2 separate regions of the Homo sapiens genome follow, and region 1 is linked to region 2. Evidence: promoter capture Hi-C in 16 types of primary human blood cells and fetal thymus (Javierre and others, 2016). All regions are on one chromosome and are shown on one strand. The core of a region is centred on a gene start or on the middle of the fragment in contact, and the rest is flanking DNA. Distances in the headings are between cores, read along the strand shown. Region 1 holds the start of CTH (cystathionine gamma-lyase). Region 2 holds the start of MIGA1 (mitoguardin 1).

The links. The method cuts DNA at HindIII sites, captures the fragments that hold promoters and counts their contacts. A CHiCAGO score of 5 or more calls a contact.
Region 1: a contact is called between the fragment with the promoter of CTH here and the fragment with the promoter of MIGA1 in region 2, in 1 of 17 cell types (total B cells). The highest score is 8.3, in total B cells.

What each region holds. Positions count from the first base shown.
Region 1 is chr1:70,408,136-70,412,517 of GRCh38, reverse strand. It overlaps CTH (cystathionine gamma-lyase), which reads right to left and starts at 1,250. Exons shown (of 12, transcript NM_001902.6): 1 at 935-1,250. The coding sequence starts at 1,102. RefSeq lists a silencer at 1,210-1,359 and an enhancer at 1,420-1,679. The HindIII fragment of the contact is 3,560 bases long and covers 1-2,448 here.
Region 2 is chr1:77,777,153-77,781,417 of GRCh38, reverse strand. MIGA1 (mitoguardin 1) reads right to left here and starts at 1,769. Exons shown (of 16, transcript NM_001416120.1): 1 at 1,682-1,769. It also overlaps the pseudogene RNA5SP21. RefSeq lists an enhancer at 1,793-1,882. The HindIII fragment of the contact is 6,952 bases long and covers 1-4,265 here.

The sequences.
Region 1 (4,382 bases), core at 1-2,500, 7.4 Mb after region 2:
AGCGATTCTCCTGCCTCAGCTTCCCGAGTAGCTGAGATTACCCGCCACCATGCCCAGCTAATTTATTTATTTTTAGTAGAGATGGGGTTTCACCATGTTGGCCAGGCTGGGCTCGAACTCCTGTCCTCAGGTGATCCACCCGCCTCAGCCTCCCAAAGTGCTGGGATTACAGGCGTAAGCCACTGCACCCGGTCATGAGTTGTGTTCTTAATCACTAAGCCACAGTGCTTAAATGACGCAATAGGCTAAATTGTTACTAGCATTATTAGAGATAGCATAGTGTAGCTGAGTGCCTAGGAGTTGGTTCCTAAAGCAACCTCAAGTTTCTAAAGTTTGAATTCCATCTCCAATACTTACTAGTCTAAGGCTAGTTACTTAACTCCCTAAATCTCAGCTTCTTTATTGGGAAAAAATGAGAATTCGGTTCAGACTAGGGTTGTTGTTAGGATTAGATGAGACAATACATGTAATACACATGATATATACGAGCACGTATTTGGCATATAGTAGGTACTCAATAACTATTCATACAGCTACTGGAAACAATCTTAATTCTAGTCAAGTTATCAGACCCTTAATATTTTTTAAGCTGACTCCGTACTACATCTTTAAAATTTATGCTGCTAAAGGTAACTCAAAAAAGTTATGACCTTCGATTTTTAATTGCAAATTTGTCAAAATCACCTGAATTTCAGGCCAAATCTAAATGGCAAGCTGGACAAACGGCTCCTTCCAGTCCTGCTTATCAAAAGAAATACGATCACTGGACCATCCGATACAAAGCTGTGCTGCAAGAATTACAGTGTAGAAACATCTTTCGGTTGCCTTCCTAATTTATAAGTCATATTATAAATTACTTACATGCCTTTCAAATTCATAAGCCGTATCTCTTTTACCGCCCAACTGTGGACAGCCCCAGACAGACCCAGCTCACCGAGTGCTGGCCAGGCGCCCCTTGCTTGAACGTGGTGGACAGTGAGATGGGGGGCACTACAGCCCTGGAGGTCCATTGCTCTGGATCCTGGCCCACATGGATCGCCTGCGTGGCGAAATGTTGGAAGTGTGGCAGGAAACCTTGTGAGGAGGCGTCTTTTTCCTGCATGCTGAACCGCGAAAGAAGAAGAGAGGAAAAGAACACCGAAGATATAACCAGTCGAAGCCGGGTGTCCGGGGTTGGGAGAGACAGAAGGATCAGGCGAGAAGGAGCTAAAGCACGCAGGTAGAGCCGACGGCGAGCGCACTAAAGCGGCACACAGCGATTGTTGGGGTGGATTTTATTAGCGGGTCTGCAGTCTCACGATCACAGTGGGGCGGGACCAGCGCGGCCCATTGAGCGCAGGCCCGACGCGTCTCCCGCTCCTTATTGGCTGACAGCAGAGGCGTTGCCTGAAACGTCACCGCGACCGCCCCACCCAGTGCACAAAGCGGAGTGAAGCTGGAGTCCCTGGGTCCAAGTGGTGTTAGTCCCTGCGGGCGAAATTCCTGAGTACCCGTCCTGAGGAGGCTGCCATGCTGGCTCCTGAGAGCCACCCGGGCGTCTCTGTGACCTCAGGCCGGAGGTTCGCCCGAGACGTGGCGGAAAGCTGGCTTAGTGTTGAAACCGGGTAACTGTAAACAGACCACATAAATAGCCTTCTTTTACTGTGGTAGTTACCTCTGACCACCATCCTTTGCCCTGAGGGCGGTGCTAAAAGACGTAAGCCACAACGTGGAGGGTGGTTAAGAAAACAGTTGCCCAAGCCGCCCAGTTTGCAGCTTGGATTCTCATCAGTCACAGCTTGCGTTTTAGGTACACTGAACTCTGTAATGACCCAGTGCTTACGATGACGAAACGATGACTAGAAGTGAAGGTTAAATTGTTCGTAAGACATAACGAAGCTACTGTAGTGAGGACGTCTATGCACAACTCTGGCAGCTTCCTAAAAGTTAGTCAATCTTGAGCTTTTTCAAGCATCATTATCTTCTTTTAAAGTACAGAGAGAAACTCCCCCTAATGAGAAAGATAATGTGGCTTTGAAATACTTACTGGAGCCTAACATCCTTACACAAAATGCTTTTGCTTTTACACAACAGCAACATCCCTGCAGGAAAAAGGATTGTTTACCACTCACCTGCGCCCAGAGCCCTACTCTCAGAAGAATCACTGCTTTAAAACAAAAATCTCCCTGTTCCCTAAGCAATACAGACTTGACCTACTTACTATTGTGGCTGTTTTCTAGCACCAGGAAATTTGGGGATATTTCTGTTGTTGCAAAATATTCGCTAAAGATCTAAAACTTTATTAAACAAATTAAGAACAAGGAGAATAAGGAATAAACAGCTCTTAAAATTTACAGTTTGAAAGAAAGATATGAAGAGAAAGAATGAGGCAATTTGCTTTTCAAATTAGCTTTAGGGACATTTAACCCATTAAGCACTAGAGGAGTGGTGCTTGAGGGCCTACAAGCTTTTAGAATCCTACCAAACTTTGTATGGCTGGGGGAAAAAATGGATAGACTTCAAAACACTAATGTATATTAATACATATTTAATTAATATTTTTCTTTTAAAAATATAACATCAACTGCAACTCACCTCAATATTTATGTATAACTATAGGTGGGTATTTTTGTGTAATATGATATGGCATTTAGGGGCCAAAAGGGTCTAAAACAGTTCCAATTAGTTTTACCTCCTAATATTTGCTGACAAACCCTGAGTTGCATAAATACAGACATTTTATTTAGTGTACTGTAATAAAGAATCATTCAGAAGACAGCACTAGGCTGGGTGCATTGGCTAACGCCTATTAATCCCAGCACTTTGGGAGGCCGAGGTGGGCGAATCACCTGAAGTCAAGAGTTCGAGACCAGCCTGGCCAGCAGGGTGAAACCCCATCTCTACAAAAAACACAAAACTTAGCTGGGCGTAGTGGTGCACACCTGTAATCCCAGCTCCTTGGGAGCCTGAGACAGGAGAATCGCTTGAACCCAGGAGGCGGAGGTTGCAGTGAGCCGAGATCATGTCACTGCACTACAGCCTGGGCCACAGAGTGAGACTCCATCTCAAAAAAAAAAAAAAAAAAGATAGCACCCAATACAAATGCTATAAATCAGGCCTTTTTTACTCTCTTAAACTGAGAAAACTTTATTGGATGCAGCTTAATATGTATCAAGGATTTAAAATATCCCCTTTCTATGACTCAGCAATTTCTTTTGTAGAAAATTTTACTTGCAGGAATTTATCCTTTAGATATATTCTTAATATGTGTACAGAGATGAGCAAGGATGCTTTTTAAACCTACGTTACTATTTTTAATAGCAAAAGAGTGAAAAATGGCTTAATTATTCATTCTTAAAAGACTGGTTAACTGGTTATGATACTACTCTGTGATGGCTACAGTATGGCCAAGAAGCAGGAAGAGATTGAGATGTGCTGGTATGTCAGAGTCTCGCTCTGTTACCCAGGCTGGAGTGCAGTGGTGCCATTTCGAATCACTGCAACCTCTGCCTCCAGGTTTCAAGAGATTCTTCTGCCTCAGCCTCCCAAGTAGCTGGGACTACAGATGCAGCCACCATGTCTGGCTAATTTTTGTATTTTTAGTAGAGATGGGTTTCACCATGTTGGCCAGGCTGGCCTCGAACTCCTTGCCTCAAGTGATCCACCAGCCTTGGCCTCCCAAAGTGCTGGTATTACAGGCATGAGCCACCACACCTGGCCTATTGATCTCTAATATCTAAGACAGCAAAGCAAAGTAACGTATACATCATGCTTCCACTTTTTCAAAAGAATATATACTATGTTGCATTATTTTCAGACAGATATTTATGATTTCATATGTATAAAAATCCTTCTGGTCATAGAGACTATGGATCTGCAGTGGAAAGGTGATTTTCTTTACATTTTATTCTCTTTTGTGTTCAAGTTTTATATCATGGGCACATATTACCTTTTCAACAATAATAATACTACCAAAAACCCTAATTTAAACATTTTAGAAAGACAACTGTATTTAGAAAAAAAGCTTTTTAAATGATTAAATGATAGCCACTTTAAATCCAATAAATGGTATATAGTTTGAGGTGTGTGCTAATTTTTCATATAAATTATGTTGCATACAACAAAATATCATAACACTTACAGAAGAATTATTAATTCTTCTTGGGAAGGAGATTCAGCAAAAGCAGATATTTTAGAGGAAATGGGAAACTTCTCATTTTTTATATTTCTTTACTGTTTGATCCTTTTATAAAACACAGAGTACATTATTTTATAATAAGTACTTCTTAAACACTATGAAAATAGCACTGTACTTCTTGTGTTTATGCACAAAGACCTCTACTATTCTCATTAAAGGCAGGCTATGAATAAAGATACCGTGACTGAATATCAAAACAGTGCAA
Region 2 (4,265 bases), core at 520-3,019:
ACATTTTATTTTGAGAAACATTTTTACTAATTAGATTCTGGATCATTAAGCAATCTATGCTACTGCATTTAAAAAACGTATTGAGTAATTCACCCAAAGTAATTTTCCCTATAATGGAGCATTCCAAATTTTTAAGCAGAATAGAAAGAAAATAAAGCAAACACTTTAATTGGCTGCAGAGATATTCTTAAAAGATTATGACAAACCTCGGCCAGGCGTGGTGGCTCACGCCTGTAATCCCAGCATTTTGGGAGGCCGAGGTGGGTGGATCAGTTGAGGTCAAGAGTTCAAGACCAGCCTGGCCAATATAGCGAAACCCCATCTCTACTACAAATACAAAAAAATTAGCCAGGAGTGATGTCGGGCGCCTGTAATCCCAGCTACTCGGAAGGCTGAGGTAGGAGAACTTCTAGAACCCTAGGGGCGGAGGTTGCAGTGAGCAGAGATCACGCCATTGCACTCCAGCCTGGGCGACAGAGCCAGACTCCGCCTCAAAAAAAAAAAAAAAAGAAAAAAGAAAAAATATTATGACAAACCTCTATTTTTGCATTCTAACTACCTCATTCTTTTTCATTTAATATTACTGAGGAAGTTGATTCCAAACCTAATCATTATTCATTGAAAAACTAAAGAAAAAAAAACAAAAAACTAGTCATTTCATTTGCTTTCAGAAGCATAATAAAAATAAACATGAAGGGGGTTTCATGATTATTCAAATTTATAGACGGAATCTATAAAACATAACCAAAAATATTGTCCTGTGTGATATTACTTGCTCCTCTACATTCCAACTACTGGGGAATTAAAAATAAGTGTCATAAACAGTTTCTTAGACATCTTAAAATTCTATCCTGCAACTTTGACTTTATAATCCAACAGGAAGGAAAGTCTGAAGTATCAAAAAGAAAATTGACGTGAAGCACAAATCTATATAACCTAACTCTGACACTTTGAACAGAGCAAACATGTTTAGCTGCAATAACAACAACAATAAAACAACAATAATAAAGGTTTCAAAGTCCTGTGCAAAAACAAGCTGAGTCTTCCCTCTGGAAAATAGATAATTTAACAACTTTACAGAAGGACCTGACACCACAATACTCCCGTGCTAAATTATTCTCTTAAAGCACCTGCAAAGCAGAGTAATCTTTCACATCCAAAAGCCACTCCCTGCTCAAAACCACCCGCATCCAAGCCGAACCTGAGACCTCACCAGCTGCCCTACCTCCAGCGCGCTCTCCCCCGACCCCACAGCAGCCCCTCGCGGAGCTCTCCTCTGCTGTCTTCCTTTTTCTTTGCCAAGAACACCAGAAAAGGGGGTCCCTCCAGCTCGGCCGTCCAGACCCTTCCTCTGGCTCAGAGCAGTGGCGAGCCCATCCCAATTCCGCGCTTCCTTTGCAGGCCTCCCTCTGGCGTGGGGACCCTCCTGCTTTCCTATGCAAGTACTAACCAGGCCCGACCCTGCTTAGCTTCTGAGATGAGACGAGGTCGGGGGTGTTCAGGGTGGCACGGCCGTAGACCCTCTGGCTTTCCGCCGCTCCACCTGGCACTCCGAGAGCTAACGCCAGCGATGGAGTCCGCGCCACCCCTGCCCCGAGGCCTCTGCCCCAACTGCGTGGCCGCTCAACTCTCCGCTTCCTCCCGCCCGCCTCTCCACCCCACCCCGCCCCTGGCCCTGTACCTGGAGCTCCAGGCCAGGTACAGCTGGCCTGCCCACGCCAGCTTCCCAGCTGATGCCTGGCGCTGAGCAGCAGTCTGACATGGAGAAGGCGGAGTCCTTCCGGGGTCAGGAGTGCGAAGGTGGAGAGAAAGTGGAGGGGGCCTTCCAGGCTTTCTGCGTGAGGGACTACGTGTGAAGCAGCTCCCGCCATTTTTGTTTAGGGTAGAGGCTCCTTCCTCGTCAAGTGGATGCAAAAACTATATTCGAAGAATTGCATCCTTTTACAAACCGGTAAAAAAAAAAAAAAAAAACTAGTATTGTAGTTCGTAACCTGTCGGGGGATCTAGAACGGTTGTCAATCTGGTAAAAATTATGGAGGGTTTCCCCTGGAAAAAAAAAAATGTGTATACACATGCTCATTACATTAAAGAAAAAAAAGTTACACAATTTCAAAACCCTGAAAACAAGATTAAGAACTTCTACCACAGGCCCTCAGCCCTCAGATGAATGAGTGTTAAGAGGCATTCCAATCCGGTATAGATGATGCATTTATTATTGATTTCATGTCCTCTTTACCTTTTTTTCTGTGTTTCCCACTGAATTAGGCAACCGAAGAATATTGAATGTGGCAATTTATTGGCAGAGTAGTCACCTCTCTCAGGTTCTAATACATAGTAAACTAATAGGGGGCCGGGTTAGGAAAAAATAACAACAACAAAACCCAAGGTACTGTTTCTACGTTCAGTCTTCAGTCAAAACATTCCATCAGAACTGCAGATTTAGGCGGGGCACGGTGGCTGAAGCCTGTAATCCCAGCACTTTGGCGGGCCAAGGCGGGCAGATCACTTGAGGTCAGGAGTTCAAGACCAGCCTGGCCAACATGGCGAAACCCCATCTCTACTAAAAGTACAAAAATTAGCCAGGCACCTGCCTGTAATCCCAGCTACTCGGGAGGCTGAGGCAGGAAAATCGCTTGAACCCGGGAGGCGGAGGTTGTGTGAGCCCAGATAGTGCTACTGCACCCCAACCTGGGTGACTAGAGTGAGACTCTGTCTCAAAACAAAAAACAAAACAAAACAAAACAAAACAAAAAAACTGCAGATTTAAGAATTCCAGTTGCTGAGCATATTTGTGGTGAAAAGCCAAAATAATTCTGTTTTCAAAATTCCCATTTAACCAAATGGAAAATAGAATAGTAGTACCAATTTATGATATTATTAGATTAATAATAACTAACGATCCACAGACTGGGTTTTATGTGAAAATATTTTGCACTTATAGGGTAAATGGAGCTCTTGAGACTTGAAGAACCTGAAATTTGTAAGGCTATTTTCATTTATTTTCCCAATTTCCTCCTCTTTCCCATTTCCCACAGCTTCCAAACATTCAACGTAATGAGAATAGCAGTAATGATGATGACTACCACTCAACACAACTTTCCTGAGACCATATTATCTCCTTAATTCCACAATAAACATTATGAGAAAAATAGTATTACACGGTGGGTACAGAGTTTATTCTTTAGCATGAGAATAAGATATGTCACATTTAGGCCAAGTGAGGTGGCTCACATCTGTAATCCCAACACTTTGTGGGGCCGATGAGGGAGGATCCCTTGAGGTAAGAAGTTCGAGATTAGCCTGGGCAATAGCAAGACCCTCATTTCTACAAAATAATAATAAAATATATAAAATAGAAATATCACATTTAATTTATGTTTATAAACCAAATGTAATTTGCTGTAAGCCTCCCTTCTTCTGGTTTGGCAGAGTACTGCACTCAATCTTAGCCATTATTGGATATATTAGTTAACATATTCGCTACAAGTAAAAGAAAACCAAACAAGTAGTGGTTTAAACCAGAAGGACAGGGGACTCAATGTCTTCTGATATTGGAGACAAGGAAAAAAAAATTGGAGCCTGGATTAATTCTGAAGGCCAGTACCTCCCCCAGATAACCAAGCCATCGTGTAATGCTCACTAAACCAGAGAATGGAGTTCATGGAGTACTACCAGTTGTTTCTTCTGTACAAGTACTGCAATACATGCTACAGCAACCATTAATGAATTTAGGGGATCCTATCTGCATAATATCAAAACAAAACTGTGAAGTCAGACTGCCTGGGTTTGAATCCTTTCTTGGCCACTTACTAGATGCATTGTTAAAGGAAAAGAAACACAAAGCTATTTTTCTGTAGTTTCAACACTTCTGACTCCAAATGTGTGGAGGTTTTTCCCCACCAAACAAGTCTCCAATTATTTCTTATTATAAACTCCACTCTTTAATTTAGTGTCTACCAACTGGGTGTTGTACAGTTAAATTTAATTCAATACTATGCACCAAACCCTTAAGGGCTCAGTCCTACAAGACTGCCCCCACTTCAGATACCAATTGCAAATCCCAGGTTGTCACTTGTACTTCTGACCAACCAGCTATAAATCAGGAATTCCCACAATCTTCTCCTCCCATCCCAAACCAGTCTATTGATTTATAACAGAAGATATTACAAAGGATACAGATGAACAGCCGGATGAAGAGGTACATAAAACAAGATCTGGAAGGATCCTAAGTGCAGGAACTTCTGTCCCCATGGAATCAGGGTGTA